Regions from separate parts of the Homo sapiens genome. Here all the other regions are linked to region 2. The links are contacts of gene promoters, found by promoter capture Hi-C in blood cells and fetal thymus (Javierre and others, 2016). All regions are on one chromosome and are shown on one strand. The core of a region is centred on a gene start or on the middle of the fragment in contact, and the rest is flanking DNA. Distances in the headings are between cores, read along the strand shown.

Region 1 (2,918 bases), core at 217-2,716, 1.7 Mb before region 2:
AGTTTAAAAATCATAGAAGGAAAATAGTAGAAAACAAAATGTACTACATGCCAAATGTTAAGTTTTTAAATAGTAGGGAGATGAAAAATACTAACCAATAAGAAGCAAAAGAGGTCTGGATATAAATAAAATAATAAACCAATGTGTATGATAAAAAAGGCAATATTAAAAAACCTTCAAATAGTAAAACTCAAATCTAAAATCTATTACAAAATAGAGCTTACTATTTATTCTTAGAAACCACTACAAGTTATTCCAGTACAAATTTTCTTTACTGAAATAAGGCAGGATTAACCAAAGGTATAGTAAACTTCTTATAATTTGATAAGAAATATTAATAATATTCAAATATATATTTAATATCAATTTCAATATTTAAAACTTGTCTTTCTAAAAGGAAGATCCTTTAAAGCATCTCTAATACAGATCAAAAAATAAAAACAAAAAACCAACCGAGGCAAAAAAATAAAAAACATTCAGTTCCCCACCAGAAAGTAATATTTATATGATCTACGAGATAAATAAACATATAATAGTAATGTGATATTCTAAAAATCTATCCTGTTACTCTTAAGACAATCATGACATTAAAGTTCTAATACTGTCACTTCCAAAAATTAAATGCTTAATCTCATTTTCAATGCTTATTTGAAATAAAGTGGTATTTTATTACTGATTTCCTTTGGTGTTATGAGATTTGGGGCTACAAAATTTCAGCAAGTCATAGTTGAGCTCTAATTATGTGCCAAAATTAGTTGCCTGGCATACAATGTTTCAAAGTTTGCTGAATTAAAAACAAAACAAAACCAAAAACCCCCACGAAACTATATATATGACAATTTTTTCTAAGATGTGTTTTCTAGTTATAATCAGACCTAAAATCTGTGTCTTCTAAAAAGGGGTTAAAAAGAAATTAATATGTGAATTTTTAAGCTTCATTAGACAGAAGAAAAAAAACACAAGAGCCAATTTTAGGTAATATTTTAAAATAAGAGAAATTTTTATAGAATAATTTTTTGAAACTATAAATTTATCATCTTCTTTTGAAGAAAGCTAATGTGTCATATATAATAATTATCTAATACAGTCTCTGGGAATTTTTTTTCATTTTGTAAACCAAATCAACTGACCCATATTTCTGGCTTTAAGTATTCTGTGACATTCCAAATAGTTACTACCTACCAATAAACAAACAAACAAACAAAAATACACACAAGTCTCCACAAAACAAAACAAACGAAAATGTACTACATAAAGCATGATGAAACCAGGAATCTAGACTATGAAAGCTACTTTAAAATTTTTATCCTTAGCTGTAGTTCATGCTAAACATTAAAACTCATATTAATCTGATTAGAAAAAATATGCAGTGTTACATACAAACACCCGAGGCTACATTTTCTGAATGTACAACTAAGACAGGTCAACAGTATTTTTTTAAAAAGTCTGAAACTGCACTTTTATTTGAATTTTTAAAAATAGTGTGGGGGCAAACAAATGAAAATCAATGCTACCAGGAAGACTGATACCTTACCAGTCCCCTTTCCCCCACAATAGGTAAACATAACTTTAAAAAGGGGTGACCTATTATAGCAACACCACACCCCGCAGTTGCTTTCCTATGGTAATAAATGACTTTGTAATACAAAATAAATTACAACTGTCAATTTCTACAGAGAAATATGGATAAGTGCACATAAACATTAAAAAATACACATATGTTGTAACTTATACCTATATGCCCACAAGTCTAAAACCAAAATCTTCCTCTTATATAGCATCACATAAAAGTGAAAATATTTTGAATGCTGTGGATTTTATTTAGGCGCTAGTGTATTCTCAAATTTGAAGTGATGTATTTTAAATAAAGGAATCACTTCTTTTAAAAATGGCTTATTAAACAAACAATCCTTTACCCATTACCCCCTAAACAAACAAAAAATCCCATAAACCAAAGTGCTAAAAATGTATGGTTATACTTAACCAGCCTGGTGGAATTTAAAGCTTGCCCCCAACTCTTCCCAAAACTCACGTAATTTGAATGAGAATACAAAACTCAAAACAAAAACCATCAGTAAAAAGCAAAACCCAGGAGTTCTGGTACTTTAGGTATAATTACGTTTAAAATAGAAATGAGATCTCCTAAAATTTCATTAAATCAAATTTTATAGAGAAGATAATTAGCACCTTCTATGAAATTTTCATAAGATGACCCAAAATAAATAGCTTTGAACAAAGGTAATGAAAAGGGATCTGTTATCACAATTCTTGTTATGAGGGCAGTACAAAATAGTATGAATTATAAACTCAGCTATTCCACTTACTAATGTAAATTATATTTACAGCCCTACAGAGATTTATAAAAGCCATAAGATTTTTTATTTGAATATTTTTTAACAATGCGTATTTGACTTAATGCGAACATACACACTATAAGCTTCAAAATTTAACTACTATTCATAAAAGAATATAAACGTCTATTAAATTAAAACAATTGTTTCTCAAAGCATCTACAGCTGTTTATCAGTTAGTTTGCCGCTGTTCTTTGAAAACGACACCTGCCTTTTATCAAGATGCAATTAAATGGAATGACAAGCTCGGTAATAAATGGAAATATACTGAGGCTGTCTCAGGCAACATCGAACAAAAATCAACTGAAAATCAACCAGATAAAAAACAGCACACCCACACTGTTGTATACAATATATTTCTTCATAATGAATTTATCAAAGGAACTAAATAATAGATACGCACCTGTGCTTACCTGTTGTCTAAATTAAGAAACATAAATGTTTTGTAAATTAAAGTTTTAGTTCACTGCAGTTACTGAATTAGCAAAATGTATATTTTCACTAGATGCGAAAAGTTTTTTAAATAAGATGTTCAATTTTTATGGAAAATGTTAAAAAGATCATTCG
Region 2 (3,249 bases), core at 692-3,191:
TTTCCCAAGGTCACCAGAAGGTAGGTGATCTTCTTCAACACCCAGCCTCGGTGCCAAAGGGCAGTCCCCAGACAAGCTGCATCAGCATCATCTGGAAACCTGTTGGAAATGCCCTGCCTACTGACTCAGAAGTGATTGCTTGGCAACCTGTGGTTTCATGTGCCTTGCCAGTGATTTTGACTCAAGCTGAGAGGACATTTGTACTTACTGTTTCCTGAAGCTGAGGTGACAGGGATGGGGAGGAGGAAGCTGGCAGGTATCTGTGTCTCCCCACACCCTCAATTTACCCAAATATGAAATTTGCTTAGGACCCATCCACACTTGCCCAGGGTTTAGGAGTCTGTTTAAAACTGCCCCAGGGAATTATTAGGTTCAGCAAAGTTTAGGAAACAGTGATTAGATCCTCCTGCCTTAGGAGCCCAATATAGGGAGGCTTTATAAAAATCCTTGTGCCAAGAGAAACGTTGTAAACTCTAACTCCGCGCTCTCACACTGAAGTCAAAACAAGGTTGTTGTTTTTCTCTCCTATTCACTAAATCCACAACAGCAGGAAAACCCATCTAACTTTGCCAACTGCCTTCCCCTCCCCTCCCTTCCCCCACCAATCTGTGGTGGATTGGGCCCCTTGGCCTCACTTCTACCTTCCCTCAAGGTGGGGAAATCAGAGCGAAAGAGTCCTGGGAGAAATTTTTACAGTCTGCTTTCCTTGGGGCCCACCCCTGGTTGGAAACTGACTTAAGCTTTCATGCTGTGTAATGTGGAAAGATCCAGCAATTAATGGTCATTGCCAGAGGACACCCCTTTGAAAGAAAGAGGCTGCCACTGTATTCCCCTAAAAACTGTGGGACAGGGCTCACGACTACACTCCCCACCATTCTCTGCAGCAGGGGCTCCTGAGACAGAGCTGAACCTTCTCCAAAACGATGTGGGGTGAAGAGCAGGGAGTTGCAACTCCTACCTCCCCTAGGAGTGCTGGCCAGGTTGCCGTGGGAACTGATAAAGCCCCAGTGCAGGGAGAAGCCTCTCAGAGGTGAGAATCACCTGGGGCATTTGGATGAAATGCCAGTCCAGGCCCCTGTGCAGATCCACTAAATCAGAATCTGTAGGGATGGGGCCTGAAAACTGGGTACTTTTAATTCTCGCCCAGTGATTCTGATGTGCAGACAGGGTTGAGAACCAGCGGTTAGCCTAATCAATTCTAAGAGAAAACCTCCATCTCTCCTCCGTCACAGGAACCTGTCACCTCTTAAAACCACAATGAGGTGGAGAGCCAACTAGGGCACACTGAGCGTGGTCACGGGGCGACGAAACCACCACGCACCGTTCCCCAGAAGCACACACTGGCTGGAAAGTTCCAGCTGGAGCCAAAGGTCGCAGTCCAGGTGCTGCATCTTTTTAAAGGAAACACACCCAAAGGCACTAGGACAGAGCCTTAGCTAGCGATTTAGATCCAGCCCTATCTGACGCCGCCAGCAGCACCACGAAGACACTTCCACGAGCACACCCAGCGGGGCGCCGAGGTGCCGCCCAAGAGGCTCCTTGGCGCCGGGGCCGCCTGACGTCAGTGGGACGGCCCTGGGCTTGGGCGCGCCACAGCCCCGCCCCTCGGGCGCCAGTCTCGGTCGCGGGCATTGAGCGGCTGGAGTCTGGCGACTGCCCCACGCCCAGCCGTGGGTCGCTAGACGGCGGGCGCACCCGTCGTTCTGGACACGCTTAGTCGGCCCAGCGAGAGGGCGAAGGAGCCGCGGGCGCGTCCCCGCCAACCCTGCTCGCCCGCGCCGAGGCGGGCCACGTGACAGCCCGGGGCCCCGCGCCCCGCCGCGCCGCCTTACTTGGTGTACTCGCGCAGCCCCTTGGCGAACCACACGACGCTGCGGTACAGGGACATGCCGGGAGCGCCCCACGCCTAGCCCCACCGCGCTCCCGGCGCGGCCTCCGCCCTGGTCCCGCCCCCCGGGAGTCGCCCGCCCTGACATCATCCCGGTTATGTAAGAGCCGCGGCTTCCGGTTCCTTGCTCCACCGGTAAGGCAAGGGGTCTCGGGGCCGGCCGGTCGACTCCGCCCCAGCCTCAGAGGGTGGAGTGAGGGCGGACCGGCCCTGGTGGGGGCCGCAGTCGAGGTCCGCAGTCTCCTCGGGGTCGAAATCGGGCATCAGCGCCGTTTAGAGAACACCGTCCTGCTGGGCATGGCCGGGATGCGAAGATGGCCCTGCAACGCACCTCCTAGAATTTGGTTACCTAGAAAACCATGTGGAATAAAACGACGAGGCTTATGATATTTAAAAGACTTCTGCATCGAATTGGTGTTATCATAAGGGTTATTTTAATAACTGGCATTCTCTAAGTTTCTACACGTGTTGGGGGATGCAGTGCCGTGCCACATTTCCCGTCTCCAGCAAGCGCAGTCAGATTGGCGACATCGCAGGCAAGAGGCAGGGCTGGGGCTCCCACCCGAGAAGTAATTGTCTCCAAAGTTGGACTTTTGCCACTGGTTCTGCGACTTCATGCAATGCCAGGGAGAGCCCCTTGATTTCCCCCAAATCCTCATCAGCCTCTTTCCACCCAAGCCCAGATGAACAGTGTGAGTAAAAAAGAGTGTGGTTGCTGCGTGAACCCAGATCTCAGACTAGTCATCCAGCCCCATTATGTAGGACTCAGACACCCCTGTCCACATCTAACCTCCAGCCCTAACGCCACATTAGAAATGGGGGTCTTACTGCTGCTGTCACTCCTAGTCACCCTGTTAAATTCTATACCGGTTTACCCAAGTCGCCCAGAGACTGGGCCCCACTTACATAAGCTGAAGAGACCAGCTGCTTTAATAGCCTCATTACCTAGGATATAGGATCACTGTCCAACCTCACTCCACAGTGGGCAAGTTTTTACTTCAGAATAACTTTTGAAATAAATTTCCCCGGAACAGCTCGCCCCTCTCAACAGGACTCTGAGGCTCCACTACGTTGCTGTTATTCCTGACAGAGTGATGAAAGGAAATTTAAACAAGTGGCATTTTGTAAAACCACCCCAGCCTGTGTGACTTTCAATGCCTGTCCGATTTGGCTGGGAAAATATTTTAGATCCCCAGGGCTACATACTGTTTTTTATACCCTCCTCTTTGTGTCAGTGATGGAAAAGGTGTCAATCTGCTCTGAATCTCTCTGAACACCTCAGGAAATAGGCTTTTGGCTCGCAGAGAGGGGATGAGAAATAGTTTTGAACCACCAAGTCTCTTGGAGGGTGTCAGCAGCCC
Region 3 (3,188 bases), core at 352-2,851, 1.9 Mb before region 2:
GTGGCACGAGAATCGCTTAAACCCGGGAGGCGGAGGTTACAGTGAGCCTAGATCGCGCCACTGCCCTCCAGCCTGGGCAACAGAGACTCTGTCTCCAAAAAAAAAAAAAAAAAAAAAAAGATACCGCTTGGCATCTGGAAATGTCTGGGACGACCTCTAGAATTAACCTAGCTCAAACCTCTGTTCCCAGATCAGTTTCATCCTGAAGGCTTCCCTAGGGATGGATCATCAAGTCCTGGGAAACTGGACATAAAATGCCCACTACTTAAATAATGATTTCCCATACGTAACTTTTAGTGACCCGAGTTATAAATGTTTTTTAAGGAGGATTTCTATCTATGCAATGAGGGGAATTTTTCAGGTTCCTGGTTCTCTTTCTATAAATGGTGTTTTCATTACAATACTAAGGGAAAGTTTTGTACGTTGAAATTAAGTTACCATAGAATTTAATAACCAAGGTGATTATTAAACTGATTGAGGGTTGGTCTTTTCCCCCATTGCGTATGCAGTACTTTCTTGGTAATCATTTCACACAAGAAATTTTCTTTTATGACAAACCTTCATCGTTATGCTGGGAATTAAGTGCTTTGATTTTTTTTTTTTTTTTTTTTTTTAACCCCAGGGAAGTGCTGGGGGCGGGGCAGGGGGTGAGAATTTTAACAGAATATTGGAGAGACAAAATTTTTCTACCGTTCATATATATATATCTAGTTGAATTATTTCAAGATTTCAAGGTCAGTATTGTCCCCATTTTATAGGTGAAGAAATAGGCCTAGAGGTACTAAACTTTACAACTTCAGGTGAGCAGGAGATAAACAGGTAGGATTCAAGGCTTACCAGTCTGATTCCTGTTAGAAGAAAAACTTCAGCTGAACTAAATTTAAAGGAGTTAAACTGAGCAGTGAATGACTGGGCAGCCCCCAGAATCACAGCAGATTCAGAGAGACTCCAGGGATGCCTCGTGGTCAGAACAAATTTTTAGACAAAAAGAGGGAAGTGACGTACAGAAATCAGCAGTGAGATACAGAAACAGCTGCATTGGTTACAGGGGGGCGTTTGCCTTATTTGAACACAGTTTGAACAATCAGCAGTGTATGACTGGTTGAAGTATGGCCGCTGGGATTGGCCAAGACTCAGCTATTGTTACAGGTGCATACTCCTAAATTAGGTTTTCAAGCTTGTCTGCCTATTAACCTAGGTTACAGTTCGTACACAAGGACTCAAATACAGAAGTACAGAGTCCTTCTCAGGCCATATTTAGTTTGCTTTAACACTGCCTCTCAAATTCTTTCTCTTATAATTAATGCTATAATCCTCTTAAACATGCTCTCAGTTCAAAATGCAGATTTGCCCTTTTTTGTGTGTTTCATTTATCTCCACATTGGATATAAGCTGCCATAATGCATGTATAGACAAAATATAATAGAATTAGTTGTTATAAAGTAAAAATTTTGTTCAGAAATATTATTAAAAGAAGTACATGTATTATATATGTAATAAACATTTAGGCCATTCAAGTCAGTCACATCTTCAATGAAAAGCCAGACACTAAATGGCCGTGAATTGGACATTACTATAGAGAGGCAGAAGGGCCATAGTCTTTCCTAGCTGGAAAAGTAATTTGCTGGGGCGCTGCCCGGTGCACTTTGCCCCCATCCTAGCAACTCGAGTGTGCTCAGCAGAATGAAGTTAGCAAAACTGGTTAGCTCCTGAAACAGACTTCCCTGTCTTGGCAGATTAACACCATCCATGAGCTCACTTTTCCTTCTAATATCTGGGATTCTAATATCCATTCATTATTACTTTCAAAGGAATTATCCTCTCTTTTTGAAAAGCACAACGTTAAAGATGTTTTGACACTCTTTCACAGCTATCGCTTTAAATAACAATCACAAATAAAGCCAAAAATAGTTTCTCAAGGTCATTTATCTAAGTCATAAGCAATAAGAAAGAATGACTACTTCAAAAAAAGAGTCTGTCTGCTTCCAAGACATGCCAGGAACTCGAGAACTGAGAACAATAATGTAAAGCTTGTGTTTCAGAGTTGAGATTAGCATTATGCTTAAGATTTTCTTTAATGTTTTTTATGCCAGCTGGACGTCTTCTGTTAGTGAATTTCCCATTCTGTACTGGGTCATACGAAATGAGTTTTTAAAAACTCATTAATCAGTTATTAAACAAAACATTTTTCCTTAGACTAATCCAAACCACATTTGTGATCTTTTTAAAAATCAGAAACATTAACAAAAACTCATTTTTCTAAAAACTGACATATTTCTGGAGCCTTGACCAATTCATTATTATAATTTTGAGTAACTAATAGTGATTGACATTTATGTAGTGCTTATTATTGCCAGGCACTGTTCTAAGTGTTTTTTAAAAATAAACTAATTTAGTCTTTGTAACAACCATGTGAGGGAAAAACTATCCTCCACTTTACAGATGAGGAAGCTGAAGAAAAAATAAGAAATGTACTCAAAAGTTGCACAGTCAATGAAGGATGAAGCTAAATTCAAACAGACATTCTGGCTCTAGGGTCTGTGTTCTTAACCACTCTGCAAACTGCCTCCTAGGGTGTTACATTTAAAAATACATTCCTAGGTCTGGTGCGGTGGTTCACGCCTGTAATCCCAGCACTTTGGGAGGCCGAGGGATATGGACTGCCTGAGCTCAGGAGTTCGAAACCAGCCTGGGCAACATGGTGAAACCCTGTCTCTACTAAAAACAAACAAAAAAATTAGCCGGGCATGGCAGTGTGTGCCTGTAATCCCAGCTACTTGGGAGGCTGAGGCAGGAGAATCGCTTGAACCCAGAGGCGGAGGTTGCAGTGAACCAAGATCGTGCCATTGCACTCCAGCCTGGGTGACAGAGCAAGACTCTATCTCAAAAAAAAAATAAAAAAATAAAAAATGAATATACATTCCTAATTTGTATTTGTCTCCTTCTATCCCCTTTCCTCAGAGACTGACATTTAAATTTACTTGGCATGAATTGTGCTCATTTAATCTGGATTTCCTGAATTATAAGTTATATTACCTAGATTGAACAACCAAAAATAAATAAGGAAAATAACGTCAACCTTGTAACTGCAACAGACTGCCATTAGTTGGTTCTCTTAGCGGTGCCTTTGAATATTAATATTTTGCAGGTTTGTCCTTAACAGGCTGTCTCTACCGGAAAAAAAAAAC
Region 4 (3,082 bases), core at 444-2,943, 1.7 Mb before region 2:
AATCTTAGTGTATATTAAACATTAATATTTGTGTCATTAAGTATTTTTAATAGATACATATTTTGTTAGATTGATACACCATGGTTTATTAAACCACTCTCCCACTGCTGAATATTCAGATTGTTTCCTCTGTATAGATACTCTAGTGAATATGCATAAATCTGTGATTTCATATCTGATTATCTCCTTCAAATTGGTTCCTGTTAGTGCAACTACTGTGTCAAAGAATTGGACATTTTTAAGACCCCAGAAAGGTAATAGATAAGACTGAAAGTTTTTTTTTTCTTTTTTTTTTCTTTTGAGACCAAGTGTTGCTCTGTTGCCCAGGCTGCAGTGCAGTGGCACGATCTTGGCTCACTGCAACCTCCACCTCCCGGGTTCAAGTGATTCTCCTGCCTCAGCCTCCCGAGTAGCTGGGATTACAGGCACAGGCCACCCTGCCCGGCTAATTTTTATATTTTTTTTAGTACAGATGGAGTTTCACCATGTTGGCCAGGCTGGTCTCAAACTCCTGTCCTCGTGATCCGCCCGCCACGGCCTCTCAAAGTGCTGGGATTACAGGCGTGAGCCACCTCGCCCAGACAAGACTGAAAGTTTTATTGCACTCTTAGTGGCACTGGTTATCAGCACTTATTTTCAATCTTTGTCAATCTGACGGGGGAGGGGTCTCTTTCTGTAATTTAATTAGGCAAAGTTGAATTTTTACTCACATATTCATAGGAATAACTTTACTACCTTAAGGACTTGTAATTCTTTGTTTTTTTACTTAAGAAGATTGCATTTAGTTCTTAATGTATTTGTAGACAGAGCATTATTACTATTTTTTTTTTTTTTTTTTTTTTTTTGAGACGGAGTCTCGCTGTCGCCCAGGCTGGAGTGCAGTGGCGCAATCTCGGCTCACTGCAGGCTCCGCCCCCTGGGGTTCACGCCATTCTCCTGCCTCAGCCTCCCGAGTAGCTGGGACTACAGGCGCCCGCCACCTCGCCCGGCTAATTTTTTGTATTTTTAGTAGAGACGGGGTTTCACCGTGTTAGCCAGGATGGTCTCGATCTCCTGACCTCGTGATCCGCCCGCCTCGGCCTCCCAAAGTGCTGGGATTACAGGCGTGAGCCACCGCGCCCGGCCGCATTATTACTATTAGCTAGCAAGATCATATTTTCTTTTTTTAAGACCCTAAGCTATGTGATCCTGGTATCATATTTTCTGTATTGAATTTATTTCTCCATGTGCCAGTTTCACTACACTTTCCAAAGTGCTACTAAATGCTTAGTTTATAAGGTTTTAAAAAACTCACTGCATAATTACTTTAAAATAATTTCCTCAACCCTGCCTTCATTCAAAATGTCTGGAGACAGACTGGCCCACTTCCAATTTTCTTTCACGTTATCATTACTGTGAAGTCATTCTATAGATAGGAGAGCATTCTGGCATACAGAAAAACAGCATCTGTGAAACTATATGGCACAGTTTGGTTGGGGTTGTTGCTCCTTCAGAACCGCATTATGTAATTTTAGTGTTTACTTAAGCTCCTTTGGGCTGCCTCCGTGGTAGCTATGAGCTCACAGAGAAGTAAGTACAGTTTAGATCTGATAGCAAAGTCTATCAGTTTATCCTGAATGCTGCATCCTTTTTTTGTTGTTGTTGTTAAATCATTACTGTATGAGAAACTTTAAAAACAAAGGTATAGTTTCTTCATTTTATTTTTTAAAAAAGCTACTTCAAACATCATTAAGTAATACACCAAAAAATAAAGGGTTCATAAATATATATTTGCTCCTTATCTGGACGTACTTATTTAAAAACTCATATTCTACAGTATGAACTTACAGTGTGATTTTGACTCAACATAAATATAAATATGCAAAATTACCAAAATTAGAGGGATTAGCCTTTAGGAAAGTACAAATTATTAAAATGGCCTAAGCACTATTTCTATTTCTAAGTCATAGAGGAAGCACATTTAATATTTCTTAAAAAAAACAAAAAACACCAAAGATGTATAAGTTAATATCAGCTTAGGGAGAATTTTACAAGATACTAGGTTATAAGAAAAGATTATTTAACCTTGATTATTCAATGAAAAGTAGTATTTTCAGTTTTTTAGAGCGATAACTCTTGAGTCTCTCTACCAAACAAATAATTATATATGCTGGTTTAAAATAAAAATAAATCAGTCTGCATTATAAAGGTGGGAGAAGTATCCATTTTTTTATTGTAATAATCAAGTGTTACGTCGCCTTCATAGGAAACATGCATACTCTTATAAAATACTTAAAAGCCTCAACTGTTCCTTTAGAATTACTGATTTTGATGAATAAACAAGCCCCAATAAAGTCAATATCGTAACATCTAAAAGCATATTGTCCCTTTTGGGAAATGTCATTTTGTTTTAATTATTATTATAAAATTACTTACTGGAATATTCTCCATAGCATTTTGCTTTTTAATTTTGAGAAGGACATTATGCCATTGATTGCCAGCGATCCTATGAGGTCCAAAGTTGGGATAACTCATGGAGGGCAAAGAAAAAAGTTTTCATCACCGTGGAGGTACAGCTACTGTGAATGTCCTACCTAGTTTGGGAGAGAAGGGTATGTGTGCACAGGAGGCCTGACCTGGAGGGAATGGACACAGGGAGAAGAAAGGTGCAGGAAGATTATGAGACAGACTGCCTACTCAAGTTGGCTCAGGATTAGCTTTGCTGGAACATTTAAATGTTTGGGTTTTTATATTTCATTCTAATATAAAAAAGAGGGTATTTATTAGGTTTCTTATGTTTAAACTTTTCTAATGTACAAATGTACTGTTTATAAATCTATTTATCAGAAGTTACATGTGGTGATTTTAAACATGTTGCAAATTGACACTCCTACCATTAAAAGGTGGAGTCTAATTCCCCTCCCCAGAACACATATGGCCTTAGTAATTTGCTTTTAACAAACGGAAGTGATGGATATGATGCTGCATGGCTTCTAAGACTAGGTTATAAAAAATGATACAGTTTTACCAGGTGTGATGGCTCACGCCTGTAATCCAAACACTTTGGGAGGCCGAGGCGGGCGGATCACAAGGTCAGGAGATC

What was found. Contacts are between HindIII fragments. The CHiCAGO score rates a contact against its expected background, and 5 or more counts as called.
Region 1: a contact is called between a fragment that was not itself captured here and the fragment with the promoter of DHRS12 in region 2, in 2 of 17 cell types (naive CD4 T cells and activated CD4 T cells). The highest score is 7.1, in naive CD4 T cells.
Region 3: a contact is called between a fragment that was not itself captured here and the fragment with the promoter of DHRS12 in region 2, in 2 of 17 cell types (fetal thymus and naive CD8 T cells). The highest score is 6.8, in fetal thymus.
Region 4: a fragment that was not itself captured here is called in contact with the fragment with the promoter of DHRS12 in region 2 in 2 of 17 cell types (activated CD4 T cells and neutrophils); the score reaches 5.5 in activated CD4 T cells.

Annotation. Positions count from the first base shown.
Region 1 is chr13:50,076,881-50,079,798 of GRCh38, forward strand. All of the region lies in intron 1 of DLEU2 (deleted in lymphocytic leukemia 2), which reads right to left. Among named protein-coding and RNA genes, the nearest start is that of DLEU1, 3.8 kb to the right of the region's middle. The HindIII fragment of the contact is 1,071 bases long and covers 932-2,002 here.
Region 2 is chr13:51,802,222-51,805,470 of GRCh38, forward strand. DHRS12 (dehydrogenase/reductase 12) reads right to left here and starts at 1,942. Exons shown (of 9, transcript NM_001377533.1): 1 at 1,833-1,942. LOC107984561 (a long non-coding RNA gene) reads left to right here and starts at 1,615. Exons shown (of 2, transcript XR_007063805.1): 1 at 1,615-2,580. RefSeq lists enhancers at 258-307, 2,693-2,822 and a silencer at 1,503-2,142. The HindIII fragment of the contact is 7,862 bases long and covers 739-3,249 here.
Region 3 is chr13:49,937,462-49,940,649 of GRCh38, forward strand. No RefSeq gene overlaps it. Among named protein-coding and RNA genes, the nearest start is that of SPRYD7, 2.7 kb to the left of the region's middle. The HindIII fragment of the contact is 853 bases long and covers 1,176-2,028 here.
Region 4 is chr13:50,118,325-50,121,406 of GRCh38, forward strand. All of the region lies in intron 1 of DLEU2 (deleted in lymphocytic leukemia 2), which reads right to left. All of the region lies in intron 2 of DLEU1 (deleted in lymphocytic leukemia 1), which reads left to right. Among named protein-coding and RNA genes, the nearest start is that of DLEU2, 5.7 kb to the right of the region's middle. The HindIII fragment of the contact is 7,720 bases long and covers 1-3,082 here.